2 separate regions of the Homo sapiens genome follow, and region 2 is linked to region 1. The links are contacts of gene promoters, found by promoter capture Hi-C in human tissues and cell types (Jung and others, 2019). All regions are on one chromosome and are shown on one strand. The core of a region is centred on a gene start or on the middle of the fragment in contact, and the rest is flanking DNA. Distances in the headings are between cores, read along the strand shown.

Region 1 (6,484 bases), core at 1,415-3,914:
GCTCTGTCGCCCAGGCTGGAGCGTAGTGGCGCCATCTCCGCTCACTGTAACTTCCGCCTCTCGGGTTCAAGCAATTCACCTGCCTGGGCCTCCCGAGTAGCTGGGGTTACAGGCATCCCCCACCACGCCCGGCTAATTTTTGTATTTTTAGTAGAGACGGGGTTTCACCATATTGGTCAGGCTGGTCTCGAACTCCTGACCTCAGGTGATCTGCCCGCCTTAGCCTCCCAAAGTGCTGGGATTACAGGCGTGAGCCACCACGTCCGGCCCCTTCCCCCATTTTAGCGGTTTCGCTCCCTATCGGGGCCAGGGACGCCTCAGGCTGTCTCGGTCAGGACCTACAGCTCCGGTTGTTGTCCCAGGCTCTTCCGCGAGGTGCTCTCCTGTCTCCTGACCACCCCCATTCCTCCCCACTCCAGCTCCTCAGCGAGCGGCTGCGAAGGACGCGCACAACAACACTCCGCGCAGCGGGAAGGTACCGAACTCGCATCGCAGCCTGAAACTGCTCAACTAAGCTCCCGCCCCGCTGCTCTCTGGTCAATCTAAAGCGAAGACGAGCCTTAGGGCCAATCAGAAGCGACAGCGGTGGAGTCATGCCCGCCTGCTTGAGGCGCCCTGGCGTCTCATTGGCTATGCTTGAGAACGAATCCCAGGCTAAGCCACTTAGAAAGGAGCGGAGCCAGCCAATCAGCGGTGCAACCGCCGCGGGGGCCGGGCCAGAAGCCCCGCAGACAAGCACCTCGGGAGACTGGCGAGGGGCGAGCTCGCAGCTTGTTAGCCCCGAAGCCCTGCCCAGGGGGAAACCCTGCTGGAGGGAGTCTAACCCCCGGGCCAGTTAATGTTGGGGCAGCGCAATCGGCCGTTCCCTCTGCGGTATGGTTGGAGGTGGGAGTGCTGACACGTCCGCGCGCAGTTACTCCTGGCTGAGCATACAGTCGAGGTGGCAGTGGGAATTGGAAGTGCAAGTGTCACGCTGCCAATCACGGGGCAAGGCACTGCCCCCCTCTTGTGTCTTTCCTGTCCCTGTACACTTCCAGGCTTCCAGGCGAGGCAGAGTGAGCTGTGCCAGCAATCGTGGTGGAGTGGGACAAGAGAGAAAAGGGAGCTGTTCACAGGCACCGAAGCCTGGCTGGCTCTTTTTTTTTTTGAGACGCCGTCTCGCTCTGTCTCCCAGGCTGGAGTGCAGTGGCGCGATATAGGCTCCCTGCAATCTCCGCCTCCCGGGGTTCAAGCGATTCCCCTGCCTCAGCCTGCCGAGTAGCTGGAATTACAGGCGCCCGCCACCACGCTCAGCTAATTTTTGTATTTTTAGTAGAGACGGGGTTTCACCATGTTGGTCATGCTGATCTCGAACTCCTGACCCCAGGTGATCCGCCCTCCTCGGCCTCCCAAAGTGCTGGGTTTTCAGGCGTGAGCCACCGTGCCCTGCCTGGCTGGCTCTTTTATTTTATTTTTATTTATTTATTAGAGACAGGGCCTCACTGTGTCGCCCAGGCTGCAGTGCAGTGGTGTGATCATAGCTCACTGCAGCCTCGACCTCCTGGGCTCAAGCGATCCTACTACCACCTGGACCTCTCAAAGCCCTGGGATTACGGGCATGAGCCACCGTGCCTGGCCTTGGCTTGCTCTTACGGGCCTCCCAGCCAATCAGGTGTGGCGGCAGCCTACACACCCCCTACACACCTCACAGATGGTAAAGGGTTGAGAGAAAGGTGACAGGGTTTGCAAATGGGAGCTACTTAGGGTGGCAAAATAGAAGCAAGAAAGGCAGGTCAGGCACGGTGTCTCACGGCTGTAGTTCCAGAATTTTGGGAGGCCCAGGTGGAAGGATTGCTTGAGCCCAGGAGTTCGAGGCTGCAGTGAGCTATGATTGCACCATTGCACCCCAGCACCGGCAACAGAGGGAGACCCCGTTCATAAAATAAAAATGAAATAATAATTTTTTAAAAAGCCGGGCGTGGTGGCTCACGCCTGTAATCCCAGCACTTTGGGAGGCCGAGGCGAGTGGATCACGAGGTCAGGAGATCGAGACCATCCTGGCTAACATGGTGAAACCCCATCTCTACTAAATGTACAAAAAATTAGCCGGGCGTGATGGCGGGCGCCTGTAGTCCCAGCTACTTGGGAGGCTAAGGCAGGAGAATGGTGTGAGCCCGGGAGTCGGAGCTTGCAGTGAGCAGAGATCGCGCCACTGCACTCCAGCCTGGGCGACAGAGCGAGACTCTGTCTCAAAAAAAAAAAAAAAAAAAAGGACAGTAGTACTCCTGAGCACTTGCTGAGGGAGCCTCCAGGGCTGTTCAGGTGAAGGAGAATCAGGGTCCAGTCTCTTCGTGGAGAGAGTGGGAAAAGGCAGACTCCACAGCAGATCAACGCTGGGGCCCGGCTGGAAATCAATGAAATCTCAGCCTAAGAGGCCTGAAGCCTATGGACCAATGAGACTCAAGGCTCTGCCCCTTCACAGCCAATCAGCTGCGGGTCCGAGGCAGACGCGCGGGAGTGGCGCTGTCCTAGGTGCCTCCCAGGCTGCCCAGCGTGCTCAGCTGGCCTGAGCGGGAGAATGCGGCCCGCGCTGCAGCCAATCAGCGTCCGCCTCAGGATCCAGGGGTGACCACGTGCGGGAGCGTTGCGTCCCTGGCCTCGCTCCATTCCCCACTTTTAACGGTCACTCGGCCTTAAGCCGTCCTGGGTGTATGTGAGGCTGAAAGGGAAGGAGGAACAGGGTCTGGGCCGGTGAGTGCCATAGTTTTTCTTACTTTACTTTCTTGGGCTTGGGCCCGGCCCAGGCAAATCTGGGGTATGGGGGCTTGACTGGACCTCGTTGATGATTGGGAAGTGCGGGTTGAGGGCTTTAGCCCTTGGGGCTTTCCTCTGCCTTTGAGAGGCTGGAAATGCAGCCTCCTGGCCACCTTTAGGCCTAGGTTTGGCAGAGGCTAAGCCAGCTTGCTCTCTGAGTTGGTCCACGGCCCCCGAGGCCAGCCTGAGTAGGAAGGGTGTTGTGGGGAAGTTGGAGGTCCTTAACTCTGCATGAGGTATGGCCTCCGGACAATGAGAGCTTATCAAGGGTCTCTGGACTGAGCCTGGATCCGGTGACTGAAAGGAGAGGCCTGTGGATCTCCAAAGGTTATGCAGGGGCTGGGCGCGGTGGCTCACGCCTGTAATCCCAGCACTTTGGGAGGCTGAGGCAGGTGGATCATTTGAGGTCAGGAGTTTGAGACCAGCCTGGCCAACATGGAGAAACCCTGTCTCTACGGGGTTTCTAAAAAAAATTACCTGGGCGTGGTGGCACACGTCCGTAATCCCAGCTACTCAGAAAGCTGAGGCAGGAGAATCGCTTGAACTCATTGAACTCAGGAGATGAACGTTGCAGTGAGCTGAGATCACGCCATTGCACTCCAGCCTGGGCGACAGAATGAGACCCTGTCTCAAGAAAAAAAATGAAAAGAAAAAAAAAGTTATGTAGGAAGTCACTGGCCAAGAGATGAAACTAGTGTGCACATGAAGGTTTCCTGGGGTCTTTGGAGCCAGCCTGGGCTGGGAGTGAATGTTCTGGACTCCAGGTTGAGATGTTCTTGGCAGATTTCCCAGTATGGAGTCCAGGTTGGATGATGTGGCCAAGAGGTTAGGCCAGTAATCCTCTGGAGATTCTAGGGAGAAGGATTCTGAATCCCAGCCGAGCTGTTTGCGCTGGATGAAGTATTATTGCCTTGTGGTGGCTCTGTACAGAACTGGGATTGGGTGGCCAGGCGTGGTGGCTCACACCTGTAATCCCAGCACTTTGGGAGGCTGAGGTGGGTGGATCACCAGGTCAGGAGCTCGAGACCAGCCTGACCAACATGGTGAAACCCTGTCTCTACTAAAAATACAAAAATTAGCCAGGTGTGGTGGCAGGTGCCTGTAATCCCAGCTACTCAGGAGTCTGAGGCAGGAGAATCCCTTGAACCCACGAGGCGGAGGTTGCAGTGAGCAGAGATCGCACCACTGCACTCCAGCCTGGGCAACAGAGCAATGCTCTGTCTCAAAAAAAAAAAATTAATTAAAAAAAAAAAAAAGCAGGGCCAGGCGTGGGGGCTCACATCTATAATCCCAGCACTTTGAGAGGCCAAGGCGGGCGGATTACCTGAGGTCAGAAGTTTGAGACCAGCATGACCAACATGGAGAAACCCCATCTCTACTAAAAATACAAAATTAGCTGGGCGTGGTGGCACATGCCTGTAATCCCAGCTACTAGGGAGGCTGAGGCAGGAGAATCGCTTGTACCTGGGAGGCGGAGGTTGCGGTGAGCCGAGATCGTGCCATTGCACTCCAGCCTGGGCAACAAGAGCGAAACTCCATCTCAAAAAAAAAAAAAAAACTGGAATTGGGTCATGTCTGGAGCTTTTCATTCTCCCTGTCCCACTCTTTCCCATGCCTGTTCTGATAATTCCTAGAAGATGAAGATATCAGGCTGTAGGTGCGGGGCAGGTGCATGGGGAGGATGAACATCGTAGTGGAGCACAGGAAGAGGTGTGTGAGATATTCTCCTCTTTAGGAAATCACCCAGGTTTTTGGCAGGGCGTGGTGGCTCACACCTGTAATCCTAGCACTTTGGGAGGCCGAGGCAGGTGGATCACCTGAGGTCAGGAGTTCAAGACCAGCCTGGCCAACGTGGTGAAACCCCATCTCTACTAAAAATGCAAAAAATTAGCCGGGCATGGTAGATGCCTGTAATCCCAGCTACTTAGGAGCCTGAGGTAGGAGAATCACTTGAACCCAGGAGGCAGAGGTTGCAGTGAGCCGAGATCGCGCCACTGCACTCCAGCCTGGGCAACAAGGGCAAAACTCTGTCTCAAAAATAAATAAGTAAATAACATAAAGGAAATCACCCAGGTTGTCTTTACTGATGATCTTTTTTATACTCATGGGGCAGGGTGTTGATACCTAGTTTCATTCAGCTGTTCAGTGGTATTTATGCTTTCGGAGTGCCTTCAGTACACCCAGAGTTCTTTAACCAGGGGTGAGGGTGCAAGGAGTGGCTTATGAGTGGACTTCAAGGAAGTCTAACCCCGAAACCAGTTAATATTGGGGCAGCTCAATTGGCCATTCCCTCTATGGTGTGGTGGGGGCCCGGGGTGCTGGCACATGAAGTGTGCAGTTAATCCCAGCTCGGCAGACAGCCACCAAGCATGATGGCACATGCCTGTAATCCCAGCTACTCAGGAGGCTGAGATAGGGGGATGACTTGAGCCCAGGATGTCAAGACTGCAGTGAGCCATGATTGTGCCACTGCACTCCAGGCTGGGTGACAGAGCAAGACTGTGTCTCTAAAAAAAAAAAAAAAAAAAAAGAACAATTAATGGTATGCATGTATATTATGAGGAGGGGAGGGTAAAGAATAAGCTAGACGATAGTTAACCTCTCCAGCCATGAGGCTCAGAGTAATCTGTCAATCTCTTGTCATGCATTCATATGCCAAGTGGTATAAGTGTCTACCATTTTCTTTTTTTTTTTTTTTTTCGAGATGGAGTCTTAGCTCTGTTACCAGGCTGGAGTGCAGTGGTGTGATCTTGGCTCACTGCAACCTCCGCCTCCCGGGTTTAAGCAATTCTCCTGCCTCAGCCTCCCAAGTAGCTGGGATTACAGGCACGTGCCACCACGCCCAGCTAATTTTTGTATTTTTAGTAGAGACGGCATTTCACCATGTTGGCCAGGACGGTCTCTATCTCTTCACCTTGTGATCCGCCCACCTCGGCCTCCCAAAGTGCTGGGATTACAGGCGTGAGCCACCGCACCCGGCCTGTGTCTACCATTTTCTAATGTCAACAATTGGTCCCAGGCTGGGTGGCTCACACTTGTAATCCCTGCACTCTGGGAGGCTGAGGCGGGTGGATCACTTGAGGTCAGAAGTTTGAGACCAGCCTGGCCAACATGGTAAAACCTCATCTCTACTAAAAATACAAAAATTAGCCGGGTGTCGTGGTGCGTGCCTGTAGTCCCAGCTACTCAGGAGGCTGAGGCAGGAGAATCTCTTGAACCTGGGAGGCAGAGGTTGCACTGAGCCAAGATCGTGCCACTGCACTCCAGTCTGGGTGACAGAAGGAGACTCTGTCTCAATAAAAAGAAGAGTTAGTCCCATGGGTGACATTCTGAACCTGATGGTGACTCCCTAAGAGATTTAGAACCATTGGAATAAAGTAGGTTCCTATATTATTTATGGGGCCTGGGCAAGATGACAGAGACTCCCTCGTCTCTTCCCATGCCTGGTGTTGGCCCATACTTCAAGGTGTCTCACATTCTAGCCTGCACATCCAAGCTCAGTCTACAAATCCCTTACACAAAATCAGGGTCTAGCGTGTGTGTACATCAGTCAGAGTCCACTCTCATGAATACAGGCCTGGGGTTGAGTCCTGTGTAGGGGGCCTCAGAGTCATTTGGTCCAGGAAATCCAGGGTGCTGAGTTCTCAGAGCATGGTCCAGAAGTGAGGTGGGAGCTCACAGTTCCGGGTAG
Region 2 (6,982 bases), core at 494-2,993, 210 kb before region 1:
TCACCTCAAAGAGGGCGTGCCAGTTCAGGAACTCATCAGCCTTAAACGCCTGAGGAGGAAGAGAGACAGCAGAAGCAGGTCAGCTCCAGGGGAGGCCAGAGCTTAGCCCCCAGCCCTCTGGAGAAGGTGAAGGAACCGTGGCAGCTTTGCAAGCTCTCTACCAAGGCGTTTATCCCCTCTGTGATGAGGGTATTCGTGGGGGTAGCACCAGAGAAGCGTACTCACAGATCGCAATTTGTCGATGTTCAGGAACGGGGTGTTAAAGGCCTAGGCAGAAACGCAGGGTGTTAGGAAAGTTGCTAAGAAGCAAAAAGAGAGAGAGGACAGACTCGTGGCTGGAGGGCCGGGGAAAACAGACGGCTTACCTCGGGTCGTGACGCATAATTCTCAATGGTGCTTTCTTCCTGGAAAAGGAGAGGGAGAAAAGGCGGCAGGGGGTCACGTGATGCCAGGGCCCTTGCCCACATCCCTGTCTGCCAGCTCTGCCTTCATCCACAGCCCAGTCCCCGAAAGAACGCAACCCATTCCCCACCATGGTCTCCGTTCCAGTCGCGCACATGGTTGGCGGATGTGCAGGGTGAGGAGGGGGAATTGGAGAATGGTACATGTAAGCAGTGTCACCATGGGCAGCAGGCAGAAAGCCTGGAGCCGAGCATTCCTCTCCGGAAAAGCTAGCTAGTGCTGTCCTGCAGTTGACTTAAGTCTAAGAGGTGGGGTGTTCTGGAGACACCCACGCTCAGTCCGTATAGCTGGATGGGAAAGATTTGCGAGCAGGTGGGAGCCCAGCTGCTGAGGTGACCCGCCTGCCTCTCACTGATCGAGGTTGCTTTGCTTTGTGGATTTATTGCCACCACTGTTGGAGGTTCCATAATCCCCCTCCATGGGGACCCCACCCCAGGCCTCAGTGTGTCCCATCGTGTCTTCCCCATGACAGAGCCCAACACGGAGCCCGCAGGCTGGATCCAGATGCTTAGATCTCATAAAAATTTGGTCATTTGTTTTTTGGTTTGAATTAGACATTTTGAATTAGTAAGAATTCATAAATTCATCCAGATTTCTAGTTTCCCCTGAAAAATGTAAAACTCTAGGCACATCTTCCCAATCCATGGCGTCAGGTGGGGTGAAAGCTGCCCTTTCAGACTGGGAAAGTTGGCCCCATTTCACCTCAGGCCCTGACAGCCCCCCCAGCTCAGTGACACCACTGGCTTGGTCCTTAGCAGCTGAGCCTGTGCCCCTGTCTTAGACTTTTAAATCCGGAATAGGCATCAGGATTCCTCTCTGGCTGAGGACTGGATGGTAAAGATTCTCACTGTGGCCTATGCTCCAGAGACAGCAGGGAGCCACCCGTCACCTGGGCACCACTCCCAGGGGCACAAATGAAGCAAAGAGGAGCTAAGCAGGGGTGTCTCCAGAACACCCCAGCCCCACTCCTCTTTGAGTTAAGTCAGCTGCAGGCAGAACTAGCTAGTTTTTTGCTTTGCTTCACCCTCTCCACCTGCTGCCCATGTGGATGCAGGCCTGGGTTTGGAGCTGCTCTGCCTCACATTGCCGTTCTCCAGTTCCCCCTCTTCCCCTGCACGTCCCCAGGCATGTGTGCAGCTGGAACGGAATGGGTGAACACTCTTGAGAGCCCATGGTGGAGATAGTCTGAACCCAGACCACCCACTCAGTCCCAAGGTTCAGTACACGAGCCTCCCCAACACACTTCACCATCCCTTCCAGAAAGAGGAGCATCTCTGTCCCAAATGTCTCCCCAGGGATGCTCTGTTCCCTCCTCCCTTCCTCAGAGCCCCAGTTTCTTCAGCCCCCATCAGAATCCAAAACTAAGAGCCACTTATCCAGGAATGGACAGGAGGTAGAGAGATGGAGGGGTAGGTGGGTAACACGTATAAGAATAAAAATGCAGGTGACGTGCTCACCTCAGGACCACCCAGGGTGGCTCCCTGGGCAGAGTGGAGCACCAGGAGGGAGAGGAGCACCACGGCAGGAAGGACCGGGATCTTCATGGCGTCAAGTTTGGGGTGCTCTGAGGCGGGGCCTCAGTGCTTGCTCTTTATATTGCCAAGGAGGCAGATGAGCACAGAAATGGGGTCCCCACCCCACTGACTCACCCCCAGATCTTGTCGCCCACCCCCGGGGCTCTGGGAGGGGGAGGCATGGACTGTTCCTCATTTGCCTCGGATTTCTCAATTCGCATTCTGCCCCAGGCACGTGGAAGGTAACACTGCAATGGGTCTCTTCATGCAGATGGGGCTGGGACAGAGACAGGTTGGACCTGTCCCTCCAAGGGATTGGCAGTGGTACCCAAGCAACCTCTCCTTTTGTCTTTGTCTCTTTTCGTTATATCCCTCATTCCTCTCTTAGAATTCAGGCTTTTTCTTTTCTTTTCTTTTCTTTTTTTTTGACAGGCTCTCACTCGTTGCCCAGACTGGAGTGCAGTGGTGTGATCACAGCTCACTGCAGCCTTGACCTCCCAGGCTCAAGCAATCCTCCCACCTCAGTCTCCCTAGTAGCTGGGACTAGAGGCACGCATCACCTCACCTAGCTAACTTTTTTATTTTCTTGTAGAGATGTTGCAGCTTTTTTTTTTTTTAATTTTCTCGTAGAGATGAAAATGTCTCGCCATGTTGCCCAAGCTGGCCTCAAACTCCTGGACTCAAGGGGTCCGCCTGCCTTGACCTCCCAAAGGACTATAGGTGTGAGCCTGCGCTCCATGCTCATTCAGGCCTTTTCTTCCACCCTACCAAAATCTATGTAAACTCTTTAGCTTGGCATTGAAGGTGGTCCATGCTCTGAACTCAACCCACCTTTATAACTTCTTCCTTTACTAGCTTTGTACATACCTCACATTCTGGCCAAATTAGACCCCTTACCAACTATATCCTTCTTTTTCCCTCTTCAAAGCATCCGGCCATGCTGTTCCTTATTCCTAACATGGCCTTCTCTCATCTCCAGTTCTCAGAACCCAACACTCATCTTGGATGAAGCTTCCCAGATTTTTCCTGCAATGCCCAGTCCTTCTCTCCACACCTTTCCTTTCACAGAATTCCCATATTCATTCGTTTGTATGTCTCTGGCATTGTATCTAAGTAAGTCATGTTCTCGCCTTGTTTCCCTTTTAGAGTATCAAGTTCCTTGAGGTCAGGAGCTGTATCTTGATCAGCTTTACATCCCCCTAGAACCATGGCTCACACAGAACCCAGGTAGAGTCAGCATTGGTCAGATATGATACGTTAGACTTAGTATTCAGGCATCCTTCAGCCACAGTGTACATTTTCCTTTCATGGGGCTGAACCTTTCCATTTTCCAACTGCCCGTCTTTTACTCTTGGGTCTTCAGAGAAATGACTGTCTTGAGCTAAGATGACAAGGAACAGGGAACAAAAAACAGCTCTTAGGGTGCCCAGTTGGAGATGGGATCCAGGTACCCTGAACCTGGAGTGCCCACTCCATGTCATTGCCCTAACCCACCTTGCCCCACCCCCAGTTTGGAAGTTGGATCACCTCACTGTGACACAATGTCCTAGTCAAGCAGCCTTCTCCACAGTGAGGTTCAGGTGGCCAAACCGGCTCCTGCTGTAACAGGGAGGGGCTGGGACATGGACCGGCGCTGTCAGGGAAAAGCAAGACCTTATCAACACAACCTGATGCAATGCACGGTGGCGGTGGCCCTGGGTGGGAGGGCTGGACGGCATCCATGAACAACCTTTACGAACCCCAGAAGCTGGGCACCTCAGCTCCATCCTCACGCTGCCCCCACACCCCAGTCCCAGACATCCTCTTCAGCCTCCTCTGATTTTATAATGGCAGCTTCCCCTTTGCAGAGCTACCTGAGGGAACACTGCTTAGAGAACACTCCCTTAGCCCAGATGGCCACACAGTAGTGGATGTCACAGAGTTGGTGCTCCTGGAGGGGACGAGTTAGAGAATGACTGAGGTGGGTGGAGCACCTCCCAAAAGGTTTTCTGGAGGACACAAGTTCTGTGTAATGAATCCTTGCTAATTAACGAACAGTGACTGAAAAAGCTCATTAGCCACCATTCCATCCGCATAGGGTCGACTCCAGGGAGTGAAGAATCAGACAAAAGAGAACTGATGTTGTATAACCAGCTACGATTTGACAGGCGGGTGAGGGGACCCAGTGCCAGTTTTGGCCTGGGTGATCTAGAGCATCGGTCAATCCAACGCTGTCTTCTGTTTTGCTCTAGAGTCTAATCTGTGATTTTCCTTTGACAATAAATTGCCCTCCCTATGTTTTCCTCTCCACCCGATGGTATTGATAACAATGTTAGCTGAGTTACTGAGGCTTACTATATGGCAGACCTTGTACTAAGTGCTCCAAATACGCGATCTCATTGAAATGTCCCAGTGATTCTGACACAGGTGGGTACTATAATTATTCACATTCTATAGGCGGGGGAACCACAGCATATAGAGGTTAAATAACTCACCCCAGGTCACACAGCCAGAATGTGACAGGACCAGCATTAGAACGCTGGGCTTCCAGAGCCTGAACCTATATTGCTCCTCTCTATGCTGGACAGGCTATGTTACAGCACATGTAACACCCTGTGTGAATTAGACCCATGTCCTGAGAGTGGGGGGCAGACTGCATCGAACCCCCACAGGTCCCCTTTACAGTGTCCATTGTGGTGCATAGCCTGCACCATCAGAGGTGGCAGCCCCAAGCATAGGTGCATTCATTTAAATGAATCAAACTGCACACTCTTGACAAAATGAAAACGAAGAATGAAGGTTAGTGGCATCAGCCCCCGAATGAACCTGTGATTGCCTCCGTTTCCAGATGCCTCCAGTAGTATAATCATCTTGCCACACCAAGTATGTGTTTACAGATAGGGTTCCGTTTCTGGATCTAGTGTTCAACATTCTGCTGTTTAAAAATAGGTACTTTTTGTATCATACCTCTAAACACAGGCCAACTGCTTTGTGTGCTCAACCAAAGAAATTCTCTTCCTATGCTGGAAAAAAAGCTGTCTGTGTTGGACTCATGATTTGTTTCCACTTGGCATCTTCCTGGCACCTTCTGAGGGTAGTTTTTTGGGGTTTTGTTTGTTTGTTGTTTTTTGTTTTTGAGACAGAGTCTTGCTCTGTTGCCCAGGCTAGAGTGCAGTGGTATGATCTCGGCTCACTGCAACCTCCACCTCCCAGGAGGAGTGATTCTCCTGTCTCAGTCTCCCGAGTAGCTGGGATGACAGGCGTGCGCCGCCACACCCAGCTAATTTTTGTATTTTTAGCAGAGACGGGGTTTCACCATGTTGGCCAGGATCGTCTCAAATTCCTGACCTCAAGTGATCTGCCTCGGCCTCCCAAAGTGCTGGGATCACAGGAGTGAGCCACGGCGCCCAGCTAGTTCCATCTTGACGTGATTTTTGCTGTAAGCGGCCAACTTTAGAAGCCAGTGTCTCTCTCCAAACTCCTCCCTCTTCCTCCATCTACGCTGCCTGAGTAGTTTGTGTTCCCTGAGTTGGGTTGGGCAGATGGGGAAAGAGAGGGGCAGGGAGTTCTCCCTGGGAGAGGGTCCCAGCAGTTCAGGTGATGGGCTGCAGGAAAATCTGCCCGATACGCAGCTCAGCTTTGGATGAATCACGGAGGGTTAATGGAGTCAGGCAGCCGCAGAGACTGGCTCTGCAACATCACATCTCCAGGTCGGCTTGACTTCCTAGCTCCCTCACTGAGAATACCAGTAAACCTCTGTTTTCCCACAGGCCTGCCCCCACCCCACCCCAAATCTGCCAGAACTTGAGTGTGGGTAGGAGGCGAGGCCCAGCCTGGATTGCCCCATTGTGAGACACACCTAGGGCCTGGCAGCCAGCCTCCTGGGTCTAGGGAGGGAGTGGGGATTCCAAGAGAGAGACACTAGGTTTTCGGGGCCTTGGCGAACACTAGGTGGGAAGCCGGGAATCCTGGGAGAGAGAGGGGACTGGGATGTGGAGTATTAGGGGGCAGAACTCAGGGCATCCCTGTCCCATCCCTTCCTCCCTCCGTCGGTGTTGTCACAACCAAGAAAGCAGCCTCATCCACCAGCAGGTGTGGTTTCTTCCTTTGCCGCCCACCCTATGTGCCCGGTGCTTAAACCTCTCCCAGGAAGTCTTCCTGGATTGGTCCCACTTAATTCCAATCCCTCTCTCCATTGGCTAATTTGTAAATATTTATTTGGCTCTTGGTACTGGGGGCTGTAGATGGACAAAAGACCTGCCCTACAGATCCCATGTCCTAGCGAAGGAGACATCATAATGTAACCAAAAATAGATACGCAAACAAGATGACTTCAGAGAAGGACAGGTGCTGCGAAGAAAACGGGGCCATATGATGCTGACAGGGTTTCCTTGGTCGATGGCCTGAGGGCCGAGTGCGGTGGCTCGCACCTGTAGTCCCAGCACTTTAGGGGGCTGAGGCAGGAGGATCACTCAAGCCCAGGAGTTCCAGACCAGCCTGGGCAACATGGCAAGACCCCGTCTCTATTAAAATACAAATTTTAAAAGGTGGCCCAGGGAGGGACATTTGAAATTAGTCCTAAAAGCAGATGAAGCTCTGGCTTTCTGAAGACCTTGGTAACAGCCGCCCATGTTCCCTGATGGCCTGTGCCAGTAGGCCCAGAGGGACGTTAGAGAGGGAGGCCAGGCCCATCGCATAGAGCCGTAGTGAGGAATGGGGATTTTATTCCAGGGCTAATGAGAAGCTGGTGGTAGGTTCCGAGCAGGGGCTCCTTCTAGGGCGTTGTGGAAGAACGGGATCTAAAGAATAAGATGGAAGTTGGGGATTCAGGAGGTCACTGGAGGAGCCCTGAAGGGAGAAAGGGGTACCCACCCTTCACTGGAGGGCCCCTCATGCCAGGGGACCTTAGCCTGCCTCGGGTGTCACTCTAAGCTTTCAAGAGCCGCTTTCAGCTCTTTGGGCCAAGAACATCTCACGAGCCAAGAACCGTGTTGCTCACCTCCGCGTCTCCCCCGGTGCCTCAGTGA

The links. The method cuts DNA at HindIII sites, captures the fragments that hold promoters and counts their contacts. A contact is called where the count stands out against the background at its distance.
Region 2: a contact is called between a fragment that was not itself captured here and the fragment with the promoter of ZBTB32 in region 1, in 4 of the 25 tissues and cell types used here (aorta, liver, pancreas and 1 more).

Annotation. Positions count from the first base shown.
Region 1 is chr19:35,701,894-35,708,377 of GRCh38, forward strand. ZBTB32 (zinc finger and BTB domain containing 32) reads left to right here and starts at 2,665. Exons shown (of 7, transcript NM_014383.3): 1 at 2,665-2,730. RefSeq lists an enhancer at 205-444. The HindIII fragment of the contact is 13,873 bases long and covers 1-6,484 here.
Region 2 is chr19:35,488,437-35,495,418 of GRCh38, forward strand. KRTDAP (keratinocyte differentiation associated protein) reads right to left here and starts at 2,028. Exons shown (of 6, transcript NM_207392.3): 1 at 1,920-2,028; 2 at 366-404; 3 at 226-267; 4 at 5-49. The coding sequence starts at 2,006. It overlaps LOC124904703 (a long non-coding RNA gene), which reads right to left. Exons shown (of 2, transcript XR_007067242.1): 1 at 6,955-6,982; 2 at 6,156-6,754. RefSeq lists an enhancer at 6,410-6,982. The HindIII fragment of the contact is 6,388 bases long and covers 1-4,937 here.